Linked DNA regions of Homo sapiens: regions 1 and 3 are each linked to region 2. Evidence: promoter capture Hi-C in 16 types of primary human blood cells and fetal thymus (Javierre and others, 2016). All regions are on one chromosome and are shown on one strand. The core of a region is centred on a gene start or on the middle of the fragment in contact, and the rest is flanking DNA. Distances in the headings are between cores, read along the strand shown. Region 1 overlaps NPHS1 (NPHS1 adhesion molecule, nephrin). Region 2 holds the start of GAPDHS (glyceraldehyde-3-phosphate dehydrogenase, spermatogenic). Region 3 holds the start of LSR (lipolysis stimulated lipoprotein receptor).

Region 1 (3,932 bases), core at 779-3,278, 300 kb after region 2:
CCCGTGACCACCTCCATGTGAAAAAGTCAAGAAGAGACACGCGCCCAGTTATCTCCATTGTTCCAACCAAGAGCCAGATGACTATCAGAAGTGTGGGAAGGGGGCAACCCTAGACCACCCAGTCCAGTGGAGCTGCCAGCTGACTGCAGAGATGATTTAAGCCAGCCCAGACCAGCACTGTTCCGCCAGACTCAGAATCATGAGGAAGAATGTTGCTATAAGCACCCATGTTTGGGGTGGTTCATTATACAGCAAAAGCTAACTGATGCAGGCTTCTTACAGGACATGGAGTGAGCTAATTCTTACGGAATTAAACTAAATTTGGAAGAGAAGAAAATTTATCACTCCAGGCAAGAGGAAGATCTAAGAAAAAAAAAATTGGCCAGATGCAGTGGCTCACGCCTGTAATCCCAGCACTTTGGGAGGCTGAGGTGGGTGAATCATGAGGTCAGGAGTTAAAGACCATCCTGGCTAACGCGGTGAAACCTCATCTCTACTAAAAATACAAAAAATTAGCTGGGCGTGTTGGCACGTGCCTGTAGTCCCAGCTACTCGGGAGGCTGAGGCAGGAGAGGAAGCCGGGAGGTGGAGATAGCAGTCAGCCGAGATCGCACCACTGCACTCCAGCCTGGGCAACAAACAGAGCAAGAATCCATCTCAAAAAATAAAAAAATAAAAAAAAAAAATGCCGAGTGCCGTAGCTCATGCCTGTTATCCCAGCACTTTGGGAAGCTGAGGCAGGCAGATCACTTGAGGTCGGGAGTTCGAGACCAGCCTGGCCAACATGGTGAAACCCCGTCCCTACTAAAAAAGTACAACAATTAGCCAGGTGTGGTGGCAGGTGCCTGTAATCCCAGCAACTCGGGAGGCTAAGGCAAAAGAATCGCTTGAACCTGGGAGGTGGAGGTTGCAGTGAGCCAAGATTTTGCCACTTCACTCCAGCCTGGGCAACAGAATGAGACTCTGTCTCAAAAAAAAAAAAAAAAAAAAGAAAGAAAGAAAGAAAAAAGAGGAAGCTCTAAGGAGTCTGCAAGTCTGCAATTCTGCAGGGACAGAACTAAGTCTTTTTTTTTTTTTTTTTTTTTTTTGAGATAGGGTCTCCCTCTGTTGCCAAGGCTGGAGTGCAGTGGCTCAGTCATAGCTCACTGCATCCTCCAACTCCTGGGCTTATGCAATCCTCCCACCTCAGCCTTCTGAGTAGTTGGGACTACAGGCACATGCCACTACACCCAGCTATTTTTTATTTTTGCAAAGATGGAGTCTTGCTATGTTGCCCAAGCTGGTCTCAAACTCCTGGGCTCAAGTGATCACATGCCTTGGCCTCCCAAAGTGTTGGGATTACAGGCGTGAGCGACTGAGCTTGGCCAGAACTAAGTCGTTAAGCAGCTGTGACTACAAGCAGAGGAGGTAGGGTCAGAGACCAGGAGGTTCCATTCTCAGGGGAGCCGGGAGGGATCAGGGGACTGAGGACTTGCCTGAAGGTGGCTCTGTGGGCAGCTGGTCTTCAGGTTCTCCAGAAGGCTGGTGGAGACCTGGGGGGTGGATATACAGATTGTGACTTAACACTAAGAATCTGAGATAAGCTTTAAATATTTCTCAGCCTCTTCTTAAGCCTATTAGATTCATGGGAACTGGTATATGACTGCTTAAGAATATTTCAAAGAGAGCTAGAAATTGCTGATAATAATGACAATACTATTAATAGCAATTCTAATGGTAACGCTAATGCTAAGAATAATTTGTTTTTTGAGACTGAACCTCTCTCTATTGCCCAGGCTGGAGTGCAGTGGCGCAATCTCAGCTCACTGAAACCTCTGCCTCCCGGGTTCAAGCAATTCTCCTGCCTCAGCCTCCCAAGTAGCTGGGACTACAGGCACCTGCCACTATGCCTGGCTAATTTTTTGTATTTTTAGTAGAGATGGGGTTTCACCATGTTGGCCAGGCTAGTCTCGAACTCCTGACCTCGTGATTCGCCCACCTCGGCCTTCCAGAGTGCTGGGATTACAGGCGTGAGCCACTGCGCCTGGCCATTTTTTTTTTTTTAAAGAGACAGGGTCTCACTCTGTCGCTCAGGCTGGAGTGCAGTGGTATGATCATAGCTCACTGCAGCCTCGACCTCCTGGGTTCAAGCTATCCTCCCGCCTCAGACTCCTGATTAGCTGGGACTACAGGCATGCATCACCATGCCTGGCCCAAAAATTAACTGTTGATGAGCACTTTCGGTGTGCAAGGTCCTTTTCACCCGAATTATCAATTTGTTGAGTTAACCAAAAAAGACTTTGGGCTCTCGATCCCTTAATAAAGGTACAAGTTCTAAAGCAAAGGAGGCAAGTGTCATACTTTATGTTTTAGTGTTCAAAGGGAAGACTGGAGTGGGGTGGGGGGAAGAGCAGAGAAGATTGTAGGGGTGAAAAAGTGTCCTTACTTCCATTGAGAAAAAGCCTGCTCTGTCAGGAAGAGGAAAACAGAAAGGAGAAGCTTGCGGCCAGGAGTGGTGGCACACGTCTGTAATCCCAGCACTTTGAGAGACTGAGGCAGGTGGATCACCTGAGGTTAGGACTTTGAGACCAGCCTGGCCAACATGGTGAAACCCTGTCTCTACTAAAAAATACAAAAATTAGCCAGGCGTGGTGGTATGCACCTGTAATCCCAGCTACTTGGAAGGCTAAGGCAGGAGAATTGCTTGAACCTGGGAGGCAGAGGTTGCAGTGAGCCGAGATCATGCCACTGTACTCCAGCCTGAGTGACAGAGCAAGATTCCATTGCAAAAAAAAAAAAAAAGAAAGAAAAGAAAAGAAAAGAAAGAAAGAAAGAAAGAAAGAAAGAAAGAAAGAAAGAAAGAAAAATAAACTGAGCCACAAAGATCTGTGCTATATATTTTTAGAAACTGAGACACTTGCCTATGGTCACACAACTAAGAGGTAGCAGAGAGGGGATTTGAACCCAAGCTTCTCTGGACCAGGCTCTGAAGGATTTACCACTACAATACTGTGCCTATCAGAATTGTAACATATTCATCATATTCAAGGAATTTGTCCTTCTCATCCAACTTGCTGAATTTATTGGAATAAAGTTATCCATAATATTCCCTAATTATCCTCTTAATGTCTGTGGAGTCTGTGGTAACATCCCTTCTTCCATTCCTGTTATTGGTAACTTGTATTTTCTCCCTTTTATTTGTCTTAATCAGATTTATAAATGTTATTGATTTTTTTCAAATAACCAGCTTCTGGTTTCATTGATTTTCTCAATTGTTTTTCTGTTTTCTAATTCATTCATTTCTGCTCTTACCATTATTATTTTCTTCTTTCTGTTTACTTTGGGTTTAATTTGTTCGTCTTTTATTAGCTTCTTTCTTTCTCTCTCTCTCTCTCTCTCTCTTTCTTTCTTTAGATGGAGTTTTGCTCTTGTTGCCCAGGCTGGAGTACAATGGCACCATCTCTGCTCACTGCAACCTCTGCCTCCCAGGTTCAAGTGATTCTCTTGCCTCAGCCTCCCAAGTAACTGGGATTACAGGCATGTGCCACCACACCCGGCTAATTTTGTATTTTCAGTAGAGACAGGGTTTTTCCATGTTGGTCAGGCTGGTCTCAAACTCCCGACCTCAAGTAATACACCCGCCTTGGCCTCTCAAAGTGCTGGGATTACAGGCATGAGCCACAGTTTCTTAAGATGAAAACTTAGAATATGCATTTGAGGTTATTCTCTTAAAAAAAAAAAAAAAAAAAAAACGAAAACTAGTCCAGTCGTGGTGGCTCACACCTGTAATCCCAACACTTTGGGAGACCGAAGCTGGTGGATCACCTGAGGTCAGGAGTTCGAGATCAGCCTGGACAACATGGTGAAACCCTGTCTCTACTAAAAAATACAAAAAATTACAGGTGCATGCCTGTAATCCCAGCTACTTGGGAGGCTGAGGCAGGAAAATTGCT
Region 2 (3,811 bases), core at 1,114-3,613:
TTGAATCCTGGTTTTGTTGAGGTTATATTTTTCACCTCCTTGATTGTACACCAAAATGTAGCTCCCTTTGTTTAATTAATCATCTGTGTTTTGGTCTCGGTTCGTTAAAACCTCCTCACCTGTACACTTAGTTTACTTTCTTCTCCCAGGCCATCAAAGCAGGAGAGCCTCACCCTGCCCTGGTCCCATGGCAGGTGCTTGGCAAATGAATTTCTCATGGATGTTGGCGGAAGGAAGAGGTTATGTCATTCTGCCCCTTCTTGCATCCATCCCTCTCTGGGATGGTGACTCCTTCCTGGCACAAACCCCCACTCCCCCTGAACCTTGGTCACAGCTGCGTGTCAACCTGCTGTGCAGGTGATGGTGCCTGCCTGTGAGTCACTGAGGTGCAAGCAAACCCCTACCCCGGGGCTGCAGGGGAGGGAGCTGTTTGTCCACTTGTTCTTTGTCAGACGTTCATTGAAAACCTGCTTTGTATTGTTCTAAGTGCTGGAGGCACAGTCGTGAACAAACAAACAAGAACAGGAGCCCTGTGAGGGGCTTAGAGCCCAAGGGGGAGACATCGAACAAATAAACCAATCAGTAGATCATGACAAACTACATGAAAAGCTACAAGGAAAAGAATGGGTGCTGCGAGAAGATATAACGTGAAGAGTTTGATAAGATTGGCGATCAGGGCCGGGCGAGGTGGTTCACGCCTGTAATCCCACCACTTTGGGAGGCCGAGGCAGATGGATCACCTGAGGTCAGGAGTTTGAGATCAGCCTGGCCAACATGGTGAAACCCCGTCTCTACTAAAAATACAAAAACAAAAAAAAAATTAGCTAGGTGTAGTGGCGCACGCCTGTAGTCCCAGCTACTCAGGAGGCTGAGGCGGGAGAATCACTTGAACCCAGGAGGCGGAGGTTGCGGTGAGCTGAGATCGCACCATTGCACTCCAGCCTAGGCAACAAGAGCGAAACTCTGTCTCAAAAAAAAGAAAAGAAAAGAAAAGATTAGCGATCAGATGAAACCTGAGGAATTGACATTTATTCATTCAGGTATAGTTTATTGGGCTAACGCCTTTTTCAGACAGGGTCTTGCTCTGTCTCCCAGCTGGAGTGCAGTGACACAATCACAGCTCACTGCAGCCTTGACCTCCTAGGCTCAAGTGATCCTCCCACCTCAGCCTCCCTAATAATTGGGACAACAGGCATGCACCACCACACCTGGCTACTTTTTTTATTTTTTGTAGATACAGGGTTTTGCCACATTGCCCATGTTGGTCTCAAACTCCTGGACTCAAATGATCCTCCCACCTCAGCCTCCCAAAGTGTTGGGATTACAGGCATGAGCCACTGCGTCCAGCCCACAAACACCTTTCAGGTGCCAAACACTTTTCTTGTCAATGGGATACAGAAGTGACATAGATGACGTCCCTGTCCTCTCAGAGCTTACAGTCTGGTGGACAGAGACAGTTGGCAAGAAAACAAACAATTTTTAGAGAGACATGTGCTCTAAGGAAAATAAAAACATAGACAGTGTAGCCCTAGAGAAATTTTGCACACTGAAGCATAACTCAGAATGGAGAAGTCAGACAAGGCTTCCTGGAAGATGGGCAGAAATTGGGAAGGGGGTGACGGCTGACAGTGACAGAGAAAGGAGGGAACTTAGATGCAGAGTGTAGAAAGCCTCTCTTAAAGGGTGGGAAACCAAGAGGCAGCCAAGGGAAGCCCTGGGTGGGCCTTCCAGGCATACGGAGGCAGCAAGAGTCACTCCACTGGAGAATCCAAGGGACAGCATGGAACCTGTGTGCTTCAAGAGACAGAGAAGAGGAAAGGGCTTTCAGGAACAGTGTAAAAGGTGGGATTCCAGGCTGGGTGTGGTGGCTCGCTCCTGTAATCCCAGCATTTTGGAAGGCCGAGGTGGGAGGATCGCTTGAGCCCAAGGGTTCTAGACCAGCCTGAGCAAAAGAGTGAGACCCTCTCTCTACAAAAAAATAAAAAGTAAAAATAGCCTGCAGTGGTGGCTGCACATGTAGTCCCAGCTACTCAGGAGGCCGAGGCGGGAGGATCGCTTGAGCCCAGGAGTTCAAGGCTGCAGTGAGCCATGATTGCACCACTGCACTCCAGCCTAGGAGAAAGAGTGACACCCCGTCTCAAAATAAATAAACAAATGATAATTTTAAAAAGTGGGATTCCATTCCAGACGGCAGTGCGTGGCCGTGGAACGGTGATGCATAGCGTGCTGACGTCCCATGCCTCTACGGGGATGGGATGCGATGGTGTCAGGCCTCTGGCTTGGGCGCCGCCCCTCGGCGACGTCACTGGGTACTGTGACGTCACTGGGTGCTGTGACATCAGGGCAATTAGCCCAGGACCCACAGCCCTGGCGCTCCGCACGCACCTCGGTAACATCACAGCAGGTCCAGGCCAATGATAACCTTATAAGAGGCCATGTCGAAGCGCGACATCGTCCTCACCAATGTCACCGTTGTCCAGTTGCTGCGACAGCCGTGCCCGGGTGAGGGAGGCAGCGGAGGGCGCGGGGGAGGGGTGGAAAGGGTAGTGGGGAGCGTCTGCACCCTCACACCTGTGCCGTATCCCTACCGCCCTTCCTGGCGTGTGCACCATCTAGGGACCAGGGGATCAGCCGCTCTCCCTCCCTCCACACCCGCCAGTGTGCTGGCAGAGTGGGGTTTACTGCCATGGCGGGGAGACCGGGCCTCCGCCCCCAGGGCTGGGTGGGCTTCGCGCCGCTATCACGCGGTAGAAAGAGCAGAAACGAGGGCCATCGGAGGCTGCAGCCTGAAAGTGGCGGGAAGTGGGCGGGCTTAGGAGGGGCTTAGGGAGAACCCAGGGGTGCTGGGCTTCCATGTAAAAGTGATGTTCATGGCGCTTCGCGTGAGGTGAGCTTTGCCCTCCCTGTGATGCACAAAACAAGGACACTTGGAACCTTGCCGGGGACGTGCTGACCACTTCGCAGGCGAGAGCTCAGGGAAGCCTCACCACCACCTGAGAAGGCCAGAGTGTGCCCGCAGTTTACAGAGCGGCCAACAGAGGTTAAGAGAGGGCAAACTACTTCCTTAGTCTCTCAACAAGGGCGGCGCGCCCGCGCGCGCGCACACACACACACACACACTCACTCACTCACTCTAGCCGGAGGAACCAGGTCTTCCGGTGGGCTGCCTCCATTCCCACACTGTTCCCTCACTTCCCAAGGGCGGGGGCCGCAGGGGTAGGTGGGGCTGGGGCTTTGGTCCAGGAGACCCTGGAAGACACAGGAGCAGACAGGCTTACCAGCCTCATGAGACTTGAACCCCTGCCCTGCGCATCACTGCTCCGTGGCCTCAGGCTTCATTTTCCCCTCTGTAAAGTGGGTTTATAGCGCATGCCTCTCGGGATTCAGTGGGAGGACGCAGTGAGGAGCTGGGGGCAGCACCCAGCTAGCCCCCAGGCTTTTCTCCAACCGGGGGACCCCACCCCTACAGTGGAGGGGAAGAGAGTGCAAGGCTGGGAGTGCTGGGAGAGGAGGACCATCTGAGTTTTCTTCGGAAGGGTCACCCATTGGGCTCAGATTCCCACCTGAACCAGGTGGACAAATCCCCTTTCTCCCATAGCAGAAACAACCCCCAAGGATGCAAACATCCTCAAGTTCACCAATAAACACTAACACCTTCATGAACTTGGACAGCCACTGGAAACACCTATAGTCCAGCCTCAGGCCACAAGGTCTGTGGCAACAGGGAGAGGTCAGGGAGACAGACAGGCCAGCTGGCCCCCGGCTCCCAGCCCCACCACCCCCCAGGTGCCTTTGATTTGGTGCCAAAAAC
Region 3 (3,694 bases), core at 1,184-3,683, 280 kb before region 2:
CAAAATATATATAGAACTCCTACAACTTGACAACAAAAAAACAAACAACCCAATTCAAAAATGGGCAAAGTACTTGAATAGACACTTCTCCAAAGAAGATATACTAATGGACAATAAATTCGTGGAAATATGCTCAACATCGTTAGTCATTGGGGAAATGCAGATTACAACCACAATGAGATGCCACTTCACACTAACCAGGATGGCCATAATCAAGAAAATGGATAATAAGTTTTGGTGGGGATGTGGAGAAATTGGAATCCTCCGTGCATTGCTGGTGGGAATGTACAATAGTGCAGTCATTGGGGAAAACAGTTTGGCAGTTCCTCAAAAGGTTAAAAATAGAACTACCAAGTCACCCAGCAATTCCATTCTTAGGCATATATTCAAAAGAAATGAAAGCAGATATTTGTACACCAGTGTTCACAGCTGCACTATTTACAATAGTCAAAAGGTAGAAACAACCTAGGTCCATCCACAAATGAATGGATAAATAAAACGTAGCATATACATACAATGGTACACTAGTCCGCTGTAAAAAGAAATTTTGATCTTACTGCATGCTACATGGCTTCGACATACTACAACATGGATGGACCTTGAAAACATTATTCTTTGTGAAATAAACTAGACACAGGACAAATGTTAGACGATTCCACTTATATGAGGCACCTAGAATGGGCAATTTGGTAAGCAAAGTAGAATAGAAATTACTAGGGGCACAGGTAGCAGGGAATGGGGAGTTACTGTTTAATGGTCACAGAGTTTATGTTGGGGATGATGAAACAGTTTCGGGGATAAAGAGTGGTGATTGGTACACGACATTGTGAATATACTTAATGCCACTGAATTTTACACTTGAAGTGGTTAAAGCGATAAATATTATAGTTTGCATATTTTATCATAAAAATATTTTTTTAAACGATGAAGGGACGTGAACGGGTTGAAATTTTATAAAAAGTGGCCAGGGAAGGTGTCACTGCAATGGTGTCCTACAGGAGGAGGAAGATCATGTGGACATCTGCGGGAAGGGTGTTCTGGCAGAGGGAGTAGCACGGGCGATGGCTCTGAGGACTGTGAGAAGTATAGTTGGAAACAGCGAGGAGGCCAGGGTGTCCGAAGCTGAGTAAGCCAGAGAGAGTGGGAGGAGGTGAGATAAGAGGGGGAAGGTCAGTTTCTGCTGAGAGTGAGGAGGAGCCACAGGAGGGCTGTGAGCAGGTGGACGTGATCTGGCTTGAGTTTTAACAGGGCCAGTAGAACAAAGCACGCCTGGGTACCGAAACCAGCCACTGGCCAGTTGGCAACCTGGGGGAGTCTAACGCGAGGAAGCGCCCAGGGTTCCCCCAGGATGCGCTTTCCCTCGCCGCCACCTGGAGACAGCAGAGTCACGCCCAGCGCTGCGCAGGCTGATCGCCGCGCCGCGCCCCCGCCCTCGGTCGCAGGTGGCTCGTTCCGGGAATTCCTAAGCGGAAACCGGTCCCAAGCCCCGCGCCTTCGCTCGGCCCCTTTAAGAGCCAGAATTTCCGGAGGGCTGACCCGGGGGCTAGGGATGCCCAGGGGCCGAACCACAAGTTGGGAACGGGTGGGGGAGGTGGCGAAAACTTCCGAAGTGGAATTCCAACTTTTCCTGGCCCTGATTCCCCTTGGGCATCCCTGAGGGGGCAGAGCTTCCCTTCCGGGGACTTTAGAGGGTTCCTCAGGTCATCTAACTGGGAGACACAGGAGGCCCGAAGCGCCCCCCCTCCACCCGGTCCGGAGGAACCCCAGTGGAAGTGGAGAAGTCAGGCGCCACCAACAAGCCTCTCCCAGCCAGGACTTTGCTTAGACTCGCTCCTCCCGGCAGGGCGCACCTAGGCGGGTCCATCGCCAGCCGGGGAGAGGGGTTTGGGCAGGGAGGGAACAGGTGCGCGGCGGGACCCGCCCTATCTCAACAGGTGAATCGCTCCAAGTGGGTCTCGGTTGCATGGATCTCGGTGCGCTTGGTTTGGCCGGAGCAGATGGGGGCCGGAAGGGACCTGTGGTCCGCAGGCGCCCTCCCAGCGGGCCAGTCACTTGGTTCGGGCCCTGGGGGACGGAGCGCACCTGGGTCAGCCCACTTCCGGGGAGGGAGGCAGAGGAACCCCTCCCCGCCGCTCACCCCTAAGCCCAGCCCTCGGCTCCCACCCTTGTGTACCTGGGCCGAACCATTCACCGGAGCGCGCAGCGGGTGGAGTGTGGCTCGGAGGACCGCGGCGGGTCAAGCACCTTTCTCCCCCATATCTGAAAGCATGCCCTTTGTCCACGTCGTTTACGCTCATTAAAACTTCCAGAATGCAACAGGACGGACTTGGAGTAGGGACAAGGAACGGAAGTGGGAAGGGGAGGAGCGTGCACCCCTCCTGGCCTTGGTGCGCGCCGCGCCCCCTAAGGTACTTTGGAAGGGACGCGCGGGCCAGACGCGCCCAGACGGCCGCGATGGCGCTGTTGGCCGGCGGGCTCTCCAGAGGGCTGGGCTCCCACCCGGCCGCCGCAGGCCGGGACGCGGTCGTCTTCGTGTGGCTTCTGCTTAGCACCTGGTGCACAGGTACGGGGCACGGGGCCTCTGACGCTGCGGAACGCCGGAGGGAACTGTAGAGGGGGATGGATGGAGTTGGAGGCGGCGGGAAGCGGGAAGCGGGGGTCTCAGAGGCTGGGACCTTCCGATCCCCTGGGTCTTGGGCGATCTGTTGCGCGCGGGAGTGAGAGGAATTCCCCATTTGTGCCGGGGAGCGCTCCCCGCGCCCTTATCTGGAAGATAGCAGGAAGTGAAACTCCCTGGACGGTGAGACCCGGAGCGGCAGGGAGAATGGAACTCTTTGTGGGGAGGGAGTGGAAGACCGCCCGATCTCTGGGAAAAGAAAAGCCGGGATGGGACTTGGGCGCACCCGGGGATTTCTAAGTTTTGGAGTAACGGGGAGAGGGCACGGGAGGGCTGGATCAGACGCTTCCTAGAGGGACAGAGACGAAGGAACAATGCCTAGGCCTCGGGTGGGTGTGGGACTGGGGACTCCCCATCCCCCGCACCCCACCCACCTCCCGCGGGCTCCGGATTATACGTGCGTAAGAGTCTGGTGGGATGGATTTACGGACTTGAAACCGACTTCTGCTGGCAGGCTTTCACCTGGATGGGATATTTGGGTGGTGATGAGGTCTTTCCCGAGACACTTTTGGTTCAGTCATTTGAAATGACTTTAGAGTAGGGTGAGGTGGTGGGAGGCTGATGGAGATATTGTGGGGGCTTTAGTCCCTCCATGGCAAAGCAGTTCAGGCAAACAACTCCATGGTTTTCCCTCCAAATTCAAAAGGCCCCGGGTAACCTGGAATCCTTCGTAGTCGGTTTTGAAGTGGGGCCTTGGGCGCTGGGGGCATCAACATGGCCATCTGGGCTTGCCTGCCCAGGCCACACAGAGGCCCCTTGTTGTGGGTGAATGGCAAAGGGAAGAGGGGACTGGTGTGGTTCAGAGGCCACAGGCTGGGAAGAGGGATGGCGGGCGAGTCCAAGGAAACTGGCCGTGTCACCGTGCACCTGCCACTTCAGCCCCACGGGTCTATAAAATGGGCATGATTATCGTGGCTACCTCACTGGTCCTGGCAATTAAGGAACAATGTGTGCCAGGCACTCTGTAAACCACATACTTGCGAGTGTCAAGCTGGTGACAGGTGGCGTTCCTGTTGA

Evidence for each region. Contacts are between HindIII fragments. The CHiCAGO score rates a contact against its expected background, and 5 or more counts as called.
Region 1: a fragment that was not itself captured here is called in contact with the fragment with the promoter of GAPDHS in region 2 in 4 of 17 cell types (M2 macrophages, neutrophils, M0 macrophages and 1 more); the score reaches 7.7 in M2 macrophages.
Region 3: a contact is called between the fragment with the promoter of LSR here and the fragment with the promoter of GAPDHS in region 2, in 4 of 17 cell types (monocytes, naive B cells, total B cells and 1 more). The highest score is 5.8, in monocytes.

The regions. Positions count from the first base shown.
Region 1 is chr19:35,834,230-35,838,161 of GRCh38, forward strand. It overlaps NPHS1 (NPHS1 adhesion molecule, nephrin), which reads right to left. Exons shown (of 29, transcript NM_004646.4): 23 at 1,476-1,532. Among named protein-coding and RNA genes, the nearest start is that of NPHS1, 16 kb to the right of the region's middle. The HindIII fragment of the contact is 895 bases long and covers 1,582-2,476 here.
Region 2 is chr19:35,531,093-35,534,903 of GRCh38, forward strand. GAPDHS (glyceraldehyde-3-phosphate dehydrogenase, spermatogenic) reads left to right here and starts at 2,364. Exons shown (of 11, transcript NM_014364.5): 1 at 2,364-2,502. The coding sequence starts at 2,436. RefSeq lists an enhancer at 3,221-3,350. The HindIII fragment of the contact is 5,250 bases long and covers 1-3,811 here.
Region 3 is chr19:35,246,569-35,250,262 of GRCh38, forward strand. LSR (lipolysis stimulated lipoprotein receptor) reads left to right here and starts at 2,434. Exons shown (of 10, transcript NM_205834.4): 1 at 2,434-2,563. The coding sequence starts at 2,455. RefSeq lists enhancers at 1,018-1,187, 1,321-2,123, 2,124-2,925 and silencers at 2,038-2,117, 2,528-2,597. The HindIII fragment of the contact is 9,039 bases long and covers 1-3,694 here.